Regions from separate parts of the Homo sapiens genome. Here all the other regions are linked to region 1. Evidence: promoter capture Hi-C in human tissues and cell types (Jung and others, 2019). All regions are on one chromosome and are shown on one strand. Each heading gives the region's core, a stretch centred on a gene start or on the middle of the fragment in contact. The rest is flanking DNA. Distances are from core to core; before and after follow the strand shown. Region 1 holds the start of UPF1 (UPF1 RNA helicase and ATPase). Region 2 holds the start of PGPEP1 (pyroglutamyl-peptidase I). Region 3 holds the start of LSM4 (LSM4 homolog, U6 small nuclear RNA and mRNA degradation associated).

Region 1 (3,094 bases), core at 20-2,519:
GGCTCAGAGAGGTTAAGTCACTTGTATAATTTCACACAGCTGGTAAGTGGTCAGGTCTAGAGTCCACCACAGACCATGTGCTTCCAGTTGTTTTGCTGTATACGTCCACTAAATAATAATCATAGCAAAAATAGTAATGGTATAATAACAGTGGCAGAGGCATCAGGAACAGCAGCAACCATCATTTCCAAGTGCCAGGCCCAGTACGTAAGACTATCCCCATTCATTTATTTTTACTTATTTTTGAGACAGGGTCTCGCTCTGTCACCCAGGCTGGAGTGCAGTGGTGCAATCTCGGCTTACTGCAGCCTCAACTTCCCAGGGTCAAGCGATCCTCCCACCTCAGCCTCCCTAGTAGCTGGGACTACAGGTGCGAACCACCACGCTTAGCTAATTTTTTTTTTTTTTTTTGAGACAGAGTCTCACTCTGTTGCCCAGGCTGGTGTGCAGTGGCACAATCTTGGCTCACTGCAACCTCCGCCTCCTGGGTTCAAGCGATTCTCCTGCCTCAGCCTCCTGAGTAGCTGGGACTACAGGCTCGTGCCACCACGCCTGGCTAATTTTTTGTATTTTTAGTGGAGACGGGGTTTCACCATGTTAGCCAGGATGGTCTCGATCTCCTGACGTCATGATCCACCCGCCTCGGCCTCCCAAAGTGCTGGGATTACAGGCGTGAGCCACCGCGCTCGGCCTAATTTTTATATTTTTTGTAGAGATGGAGTCTCACTCTGTCTCCCAGGCTGGTCTCGAACTCCTGAGTTCAAGCAGTTCTCCCGCCTCAGCCTCTGAGTGTTGGGATTACAGGTGTGACCACCGCGCCGAGCCCCACTCCCTTTTTAAACCAATGCACAGGGAGCATCTACTATGTGCGAGGCACCCTCCATTTTACAGATGGGGAAACTGAGTTCCAAGCAGCTTTTGCCAGGAGTGGGAGCGCACCGTCCCTGCCCAGTCTCTCCAGTTGGGCGTTCCGAGACCACCTATGTAGGGTATTCGGCTAGCGCTCAATTAAACCGAAACACCGTCGCAGCGACCACAGGTGCAGACCACCAAGTCCACACCGCCAGCCGCCCGGGCGTCCCCAATTAGCAGTTGGGGCGGGACCAAGTCCTCGAGCTGCCGCCGCAGCGGCGGTTGAAAGCCCCACCCCCTGCGCGTGCGCGGTGCGCGTCCCGTCTTCCTGCTGGGCACCAGGCGCCCGCGAAGAGCGCGCGCGCTTCCGCCGGCGTCGGGCTCGCGCACGCGCACGGCGACGGCGGCGGTGGCGGCAGTTCCTGCTCTAGGCTGCGAGCGGCTGGCGGCTTCGAGGGGAGCTGAGGCGCGGAGGGGCTCGGCGGCAGCGGCGGCGGCTCGGCACTGTTACCTCTCGGTCCGGCTGGCGCCGGGGCGCGCGGTTTGGTCCTTTCCGGGCGCGCGGGGGCGACAGCGGCAGCGACCCGAGGCCTGCGGCCTAGGCCTCAGCGCGGCGGCGGGCTCGAGTGCAGCGCGGAACCGGCCCGAGGGCCCTACCCGGAGGCACCATGAGCGTGGAGGCGTACGGGCCCAGCTCGCAGACTCTCACTTTCCTGGACACGGAGGAGGCCGAGCTGCTTGGCGCCGACACACAGGGCTCCGAGTTCGAGTTCACCGACTTTACTCTTCCTAGCCAGACGCAGACGCCCCCCGGCGGCCCCGGCGGCCCGGGCGGTGGCGGCGCGGGAGGCCCGGGCGGCGCGGGCGCGGGCGCTGCGGCGGGACAGCTCGACGCGCAGGTGAGCGGCACATGGCGGTGCCGGAAGCCCGGGCCCGGCCTCGGCGCCTGAGACCTGCCCCGAACTCGCCTCGGGCCCGGCCTGTGTTTGGCCGGAGTCCCCCATCGCGGCCGGGCCTGGGGCGATCTGCCCCGGGTCCCCTACTCTGGCTCGGCCTGAGCTTACCTGCCCCAGGTCCTGCAATCTGCCCGGGCCTGGCCTGATCTGCCCCGGGTCCCCCGCTCCGGCCGCGACCTGGCTGAGTTCCTTCGGCCCCCAACTCCTGGGCCGGGCAGACTTGCCTCGAGTCCTCCACTTCGTTCGGGACCGAGCTAACCTGACCCTGTTCCTTTACGCCAGCTGGGTTTGCTCCCCCTCCTGGGCCCGGGCTGACCTGCCTTGTGTCCCACAATCAGTCTGGCCTGGAGTAACCTGCCCCCTGACTTATCTGAGTTCTTCCATTCCATCCGGGCTAGGGTGACCTGCCCTGGTCCCTCTTTCGCAGGTCTCGGTATTCTGCCTCGAGTTCTCCTACGACCTGGGCCGGGTCTTGCTCAGGCCGGAGCTTGAGTGACTTCCCTCAGTCCCTTTCCGGGAGTATCCAGGGTGACCTGCCCTAATCCTGTCTCTGGCCTGGTCCGGGGGTCCTGCCCGGTCTCCCCATTGGTGGGTCTGGCCGCCTGTCCCACCTCCCATCTGTGGTCGCAGCCATCTGGGCACCCCACCTTTCACAGTCACGGAGCGTAGGTTCGACTTTCCCCATGCATAGGGGCGCTGGCCAGCGGAAGGTTGAGGCAGAGAAGAATTTTTGCCTCCCATGGAGGAGCACATATTGGCTGGCTATTAAGATCATTCAGGAAGCAGGTTGTATTTTGTTTTTTCTTGCATCGCCTGTTGCTGAAACCGACCTGTTACATAACTTCACAACTCTTGCCTTGGAAAAGTTGGGTTTGAGTTTTGTTCTTCCAATAAGACAGCAATAATGGCTTTACATAAACGAGTCTGCCACGTTGGAAACTTATTTTTAATGATGTGGATGTTTAGAGAAGGTTACTTAGGTATTTTAAATGGGGGCTTGGGTTGGGAGAAGTATCGGGCATGCATTTCCTGGTCCTGGGCGCTGCTTGCCTGGGGTGGGAGAGGGGCTGGGGGGGTGGCGCGTGTTGCACCGGGGTCCTGGGGAATGTCCTCATCACCCTCTGGATTTCAGGTTGCTTTCACCTTAGGCTTGCTTTGTGCCTGACCTCTCGCTCAGGTTTGTTTTCCTGAATGCTCCGACAGGAAGAAGCTCCGAGGCTTACCTTGGCACAGGTGTCCCTTGGCATATGCTGGTGTTTCAGAACTGGGGGAACCACTCCTTGCTC
Region 2 (3,080 bases), core at 365-2,864, 490 kb before region 1:
ACCATACTAAATGATTTCTGCTTAATAATACCTGGGGAGGGGGCCGGAGGCAGTGGTTCACGCCTGTAATCCCAGCACTTTGGGAGCTGAAAAGGGTGGATCACCTGAAGTCAGGAGTTCGAGACCAGCCTGGCCAACATGGTGAACCTCCCTCTCTACTAAAAATACAAAATTAGCTGGGTATGGCGGCACTCGCCTGTAATCCCAGCTACTTGGGAGGCTGAGGTGGGAGAATTGCTTGAACCCGGGAGGCAGAGGTTGCAGTGAGCCAAGATCACACCACTGCACTCCAGCCTGGGTGACAAGAGTGAAACTACGTCTCAAATAAATAAATACATATATAATTTCTGCTTAATAATACCTGGGGGACTAAATAATCTGTACAACAAACCCCATGACACGAGTTTATCTATATAACAAACCTGCACATGTACCCCAAAACTTAAAAGCTAAAAAAAATTAAAAATGATTTCTGGCCAGGTGTGCTGGTTTACACCTGTAATCCCAGCACTTTTGGGAGGCCAAGGTGTGCGGATTGCTTGAGCTCGGGAGTTCGAGACCAGCCTGTGCAACACTATGAAACCCCCATCTCTACAAAAATACAAAAATTAGCTGGGTGTGGTGCCACACACCTGTAGTCCCAGCTACTCAGGAGGCTGAGATGTGAGGATCAGTTGAGCCCTGGAGGTCAAAGTTACAGAGCTATGATTTTGCCACTGCACTCCAGCCTGGGTAACAGAGTGAGACCCTGTCTCCAAAAAAAAGAGAGAGAAAGGAAATTATTTCTGAGCTTTATTGCTATGAAGAGGATGGAACCAGGGAATGAGATGGAACCACTGGGGGGTAGCAGTGAGGTCATTTCAGCCAAGGAGGGCCAGAAGGAACCCTCAGAGGAGGTAATAGGATAGCAGGGAGGTGATAGCCAGAGAAGGCCACAAGGAGAAAGTGACAGTTCACCCCTCGGAGGAGGTGACAGCCAGGACAGGAGGAGGGCCCCTGGGAGGAGGCGACATTGGAACACTGGAGCTGAGGCCTGAAGGAGGCCAGCTTCGCAGGTACCTGCGGGGTGTGTTCCGGCAGAGGGAACAGCAGGTACAATCGCCCTCCCCCATTAGCCTCCTAGGACCATGGGGGCCTGCAGAGAAACTTCTGGCACCACACAAATATGGTTGTCGTGTTTTTCCTTTTTTACTCTGTCCTCCCCCACCCCCGCCAACTTCCTGGCCTGAATGCTGCTCCTGTGACCCCTTGAGGCGAGTGACCTCGGGGAAGTGGCATTCTGTGCCTCAGTTTCCTTATCTGGAAAACGGGCCTTGCTCGCGGGGACTTCCCTCCCTAATTCTGCGCAGTATGCATGCATAGGGCAGGCCCTCAATGAACCCTTGCAGAATAAAGGACCGGCTCATCCCCAGCACCTGGCTCAGTGCGTGCAAGCGGCTACACACTACGGCATAAGATGTTCCCATTTTGCAGACGGGGAAACGGAGGCTGGGGAATACCGGGCCTAGCCGACGGGGGCGGGGCGCAGGGCGCGCACGCTGCGTCTCGGGCCCGGGGGCGCGCACGCCGAGCGGCTGACCGGGGGCGAGGCCGGGGGCTTGACAGGGGCGTGGCCTCGCGCGGCCGAGAGGCTGCAGCGGCAGCAGCTGTCGCGCCAGTCGCAACAGAAGCAGGTCCGAGGCACAGCCCGATCCCGCCATGGAGCAGCCGAGGAAGGCGGTGGTAGTGACGGGTACGCTGGCTGATGGGGGCTGTAGCGGCAGCGGCCGGGGGCAGAGGCGGGGGCGGCTCCGGGACTGCGGGGCCGAGAGGGGCAGGTGCTGGAAGTCCTCTCAGATTTGGAAGGTGTCATCACCCGCGGGAGCCCCGCGCAGCCCAGGCTTCCTGGAAAGTGGAGGAGGAGGAGCCTTGGGGGTCCCAGGGTCGGGAGTCAGGGCAGTCGGGCGCGGGGCTTGGGGGGCCGGGCAAAAGCCCGGCGCTGCGCAGGCCCCCCTGGCGTCCTTTCCTCCCAAGGTGGGGATGGTGACCCTCCTGGCACCTGCCTCCTCTGTCTGGCCTGCGGGCTGGACTGGACCCTTCCTCCCTGCCCCTTCCGAGGTCCAGCCTGTCCCCACACCGCTCCCCCAACCCCTGGCCCCAGGGGACAAAGGCCGATTTGCGGGCAGGAAGTGTCCCAGTGACAAATGAACCTCCCAGTCACTGCTCGCCGCGCCCTGCGCTCCTGGGGGGCTACTCTCCCAAGGCAGGGGCAGGTGGGGGTCCGGGGACCTCGGGCTCTCCCAGCTGTCCCAGGGACTGTCTTCAGCGGAAACCTTTTTGTGTTTTGTGCCAGGGCTGTTTGTTGGTGAGTCAGGGCCCCTGCTGTCACCGACTCCCCCCCACCCCCAAACCAACTGTTTCTCCTCCCTGAGACTCCGCCTCGGGGCCACGTGGGGCGCCAACTTCCGCTGGGGCCTCAGAGTCAAGGAGTGGGGGGGTCATTTTGACCTGCTGTCTGGAGGGGTCAGAGTGGGAAATCCAGCAAAGGTGCACACAGGTGTTTTGTGGCTGTTGAAGGGAGATTGAGGCTGATCCAGGAGATTCAGGGAAGAAGGAAGAAACAAGGCACCTGCTTAACAGGTGTGTATAATTGGGAGGAGGGTCACTGCCCCCATCCCTTCCAGCCTTCCTTTATCTGGTTATTTATTCCAGCACTTTTTGCATGAGCTGATTACATCTTTACTGTCTCCATTTTGCAGAAAGGGAAACTGAGGCTCACAGAGGTCATCCAGTTTGTAAGGGGCTGAGCTGAGACTCAAACTTTGGCTGTACAGAAGGATAGAGTTAGGAGGTCCCCTCCTGAGCCACAGCCCCTACCTGCTATCCCAGGCTACAGCATCTCTGCATAGCATTCATATCCTGTGGGATCACTGGCCCAGATGGACCGTATTTTTTTTTTTTTGAGACGGAGTTTTGCTCTTGTTGCCCAAGCTGGAGCACAACGGCGCGATCTCGGCTCACTGCAACCTTCGCCTCCTGGGTTCAAGCGATTCTCCTGCCTCAGCCTCCTGAGTAGCTGGAATTACGGGCACGCATCACCC
Region 3 (2,873 bases), core at 12-2,511, 510 kb before region 1:
AAGACAGCAAGAAAACCTCACTTCAACACTCCCGTCGATGACTCCATCGACCTCAGGAAGCTCCAACCAATCAGCACTCCCCACTTCCTGAGCCCCTACCCGCCAAATTATCTTTCAAAACTCGGATCCCCTAATGCTCAGCGGAGACTGATTTGAGCAATAATAAAACTCTGGTCTCCTGCATAGCTGGCTCTGTGTGAAATACTCTTTCTCCACTGCAATTCCCCTGTCTTGATAAATCTGTCTAGGAAGACAGGCAAGGTGAACCCATTGGGTGGTTACACACTGACCAGCCGGATTTAGGGAGAGTTCTCACTAATCCACAGTTCTGATGCAGCCACCCCTGGGGGACCCTCCTGGTTACTGAATCTCCCACTGTCTCACAGAGTCTGGAAGTCACATCCCCAACAAGGGCCTTGGTTTCTCTCATTGAAAAAAGAAGGACCAGAAGCTGATGGGCCAGGAAACTCCCAGCTCTGAATTCCTTTTCCGATCTGCACAGTGGGGGACACGGGCACTTTCTAGCCCAGATCCAGAACTTCCAGAATCATAAACAATGGGCCCTGCAGAGACCTGGGCCGCAATTTTTCCTTCTTTGTATTGGGAGGATGTACTTTGTCCACCCCTAGCTCAAAACGCCCCCTTCCGCTGGAATGACATGCTATGTGACCCAAGGAGAAACACCACACCCCAGCACCAGGCCTGCTTTTCAGCCAGAAACCAAGAGGCCTAGGAGGCTGTGCTGCTAGCATCTTGCAAGCTCTGAAATTCCTAAAACTAAGTTTCACAACTCAGACTGGCCCCCTACTTCCCAGCACTCTAGTTTTCAATCAGGGAGGTCAGACTGGGCCCGAAGCGTAAGGGACCCCTTCCCTGCCCAAAAACTCTCTGCTGCATTTGGCGGATCCCCACCTTTTTTTTTTTTACTTCAGTTTCCCCACCTGCAAACTGGGAAAACTAACTAAGGCGAGGCCACTGTACTGTGGATACAAGTCCGTGCAACCCTAAATCCCAGACACGAACGTGATAGAGCCACCTGCAGTCTCCGGCCTCAGTTTCCCAGCCTCGTGCCGGGGGGCGGGACTCGAGGCTCGGACCTTACGTTCGCCCCGCGCCAACCAAGCCCACAGCGCCCGCCCGCAGGGATCCCAACGACTGCTGTTCCCGCCTCCCGGTGAGACCCCGCAGTTGCCCTGCCCTCACCATGGTGCCGGCGGGGACCGGGCTCGCCGGCCACTTCCGCCGCCGCCGCTGCACACGCTCCCGGCGGTCGTCGCCGCGCCGCGCGCCACTAAGCTGAAAGAAAGTGGCAGAGACGCAAGCCAGTCAGCACCGGGCTCGAAGGGCGGTCAACCAATCCACGCGGAGTAGGGCGGGGCCCGCTGGGCGAAAGGGCGGGGCGGGCCGTGTTCCCGCCGGAGGAACGAGGACGAGAGCCGTAAAGTGCCGCGGCTTGTAATGCAAAAGGAGGCGGAGCAACGCGCGCCGGCGCGGGGTGCATTGTGAGGAAATGCGTGCGCAGGTGAAACCTTCGTCGGTCTCCTGGGCTCCACGCTGTGGGCAAAGCCAGTTAATGCCTTTCGTTTGCAGTAGAGAGAGAGAAATCGAGGCTTCGTGGTGATTGGGCCGTGCCTGATGTTGCCCTTCCGACTCCTAGTTTTCTGATTCTGTAATTATCCAGGGAACATCATTTAATAGGTTGGAATCCTGACCACGACCCTCGGGGCCTCAGTTTGCTCCCTGTAAATAGTAGTGTCTGCTCCAAAACGTTGCTTACTGTAAGGATGAAATGAATGAAACCATGTAAAAGCACTTAAAACAGCGTCTGGCACATATTAAGTACTTATTACCTACTCTGTGCCTGTTTCTGCTCACAGAATGAACAAAACACAAAATTCGTGGCCCTCAGGGAGACAGACAGTAAACAAAGTAAATAGGCGAATGCTATTAGTTTTCTGGGGCCTGCTGTAACAAATGCCCACACACTGCGAGGTTTAAAACAACAGAACGTGATTTTCTCACAATTCAAGAGATCAGAATAATGAAGTGAGGTTGTCAGCACAGTTGGCTCCCTCTGGAGGCTCTGAGGACAATCTGTGTGTCCTATGCCTCTCTCCTGGGTTCTGGTGGCTGCTGGGAATCCTTGGAGTTCTTGGCTTGTAGATGCAGCCTTCCGCGTTCTGCCTTTGTCGTCACTTGGCCTTCTCTGTGTGTCTCTGAGTCTCAAATGTATCTCTCCTTTTTTTTTTCTTTTTTTTTTTTGTAGTAGAGACAGGGTCTCCCTATGTTGTCCAGGCTGGTCTCGAACTCCTGGGGTCAAGCAATCCTCCCTCCTCTGCCTCCCAAAGTGCTGGGATTACAGGCGTGAGCCACCGAGCCCGGCCGCTCCTTTTTCTTGTAAAGGACACTCCTTTCTCTTATTAAGTCCACCATAAATTTCAGGATAATGTCATCTCAAGATCCTTAATTACATCTGCGAAGACCCTGTTCTTTTTTTTTTGAGATGGAGTCTCATTCTATCACCCAGGCTGCAGTGCAGTGGTGCGATCTCAGCTCACTGCAACCCCTCCCTCCTGGGTTCAAGGGATTCTTCTGCCTCAGCCACCCGAGTGGCTAGGATTACAGGCACATGCCACAATGCCCAGCTAATTTTTGTATTTTTAGCAGAGACGGGGTTTTGCCATGTTGGCCAGGAGGTGGCCTCGAACTCCTGACCTCAGGTGATCCTTCCACCTTGGCCTCCCAAAGTGCTGGGATTACAGGCATGAGTCACCACGCCCAGCCTCGTTTTTAAATGACTGATGCTATTTATTGACATTATTCATAATATCAAAAGACTGAAAAAAACCCAATGCGACCAAATAATAGAGTAA

The links. The method cuts DNA at HindIII sites, captures the fragments that hold promoters and counts their contacts. A contact is called where the count stands out against the background at its distance.
Region 2: a contact is called between the fragment with the promoter of PGPEP1 here and the fragment with the promoter of UPF1 in region 1, in 3 of the 25 tissues and cell types used here (adrenal gland, dorsolateral prefrontal cortex and stomach).
Region 3: the fragment with the promoter of LSM4 here is called in contact with the fragment with the promoter of UPF1 in region 1 in 1 of the 25 tissues and cell types used here (dorsolateral prefrontal cortex).

What each region holds. Positions count from the first base shown.
Region 1 is chr19:18,830,690-18,833,783 of GRCh38, forward strand. It overlaps UPF1 (UPF1 RNA helicase and ATPase), which reads left to right and starts at 1,270. Exons shown (of 24, transcript NM_002911.4): 1 at 1,270-1,751. The coding sequence starts at 1,521. RefSeq lists silencers at 1,074-1,333, 1,454-1,553, 1,704-1,793, 1,804-1,883. The HindIII fragment of the contact is 23,837 bases long and covers 1-3,094 here.
Region 2 is chr19:18,338,984-18,342,063 of GRCh38, forward strand. It overlaps PGPEP1 (pyroglutamyl-peptidase I), which reads left to right and starts at 1,615. Exons shown (of 5, transcript NM_017712.4): 1 at 1,615-1,732. The coding sequence starts at 1,699. RefSeq lists a silencer at 1,464-1,653 and an enhancer at 1,485-2,172. The HindIII fragment of the contact is 61,917 bases long and covers 1-3,080 here.
Region 3 is chr19:18,321,815-18,324,687 of GRCh38, forward strand. LSM4 (LSM4 homolog, U6 small nuclear RNA and mRNA degradation associated) reads right to left here and starts at 1,262. Exons shown (of 5, transcript NM_012321.5): 1 at 1,204-1,262. The coding sequence starts at 1,206. It overlaps LOC105372300 (a long non-coding RNA gene), which reads left to right. Exons shown (of 2, transcript XR_007067157.1): 2 at 1-183. RefSeq lists a silencer at 1,143-1,322 and enhancers at 1,383-1,602, 1,801-2,403. The HindIII fragment of the contact is 25,574 bases long and covers 1-2,873 here.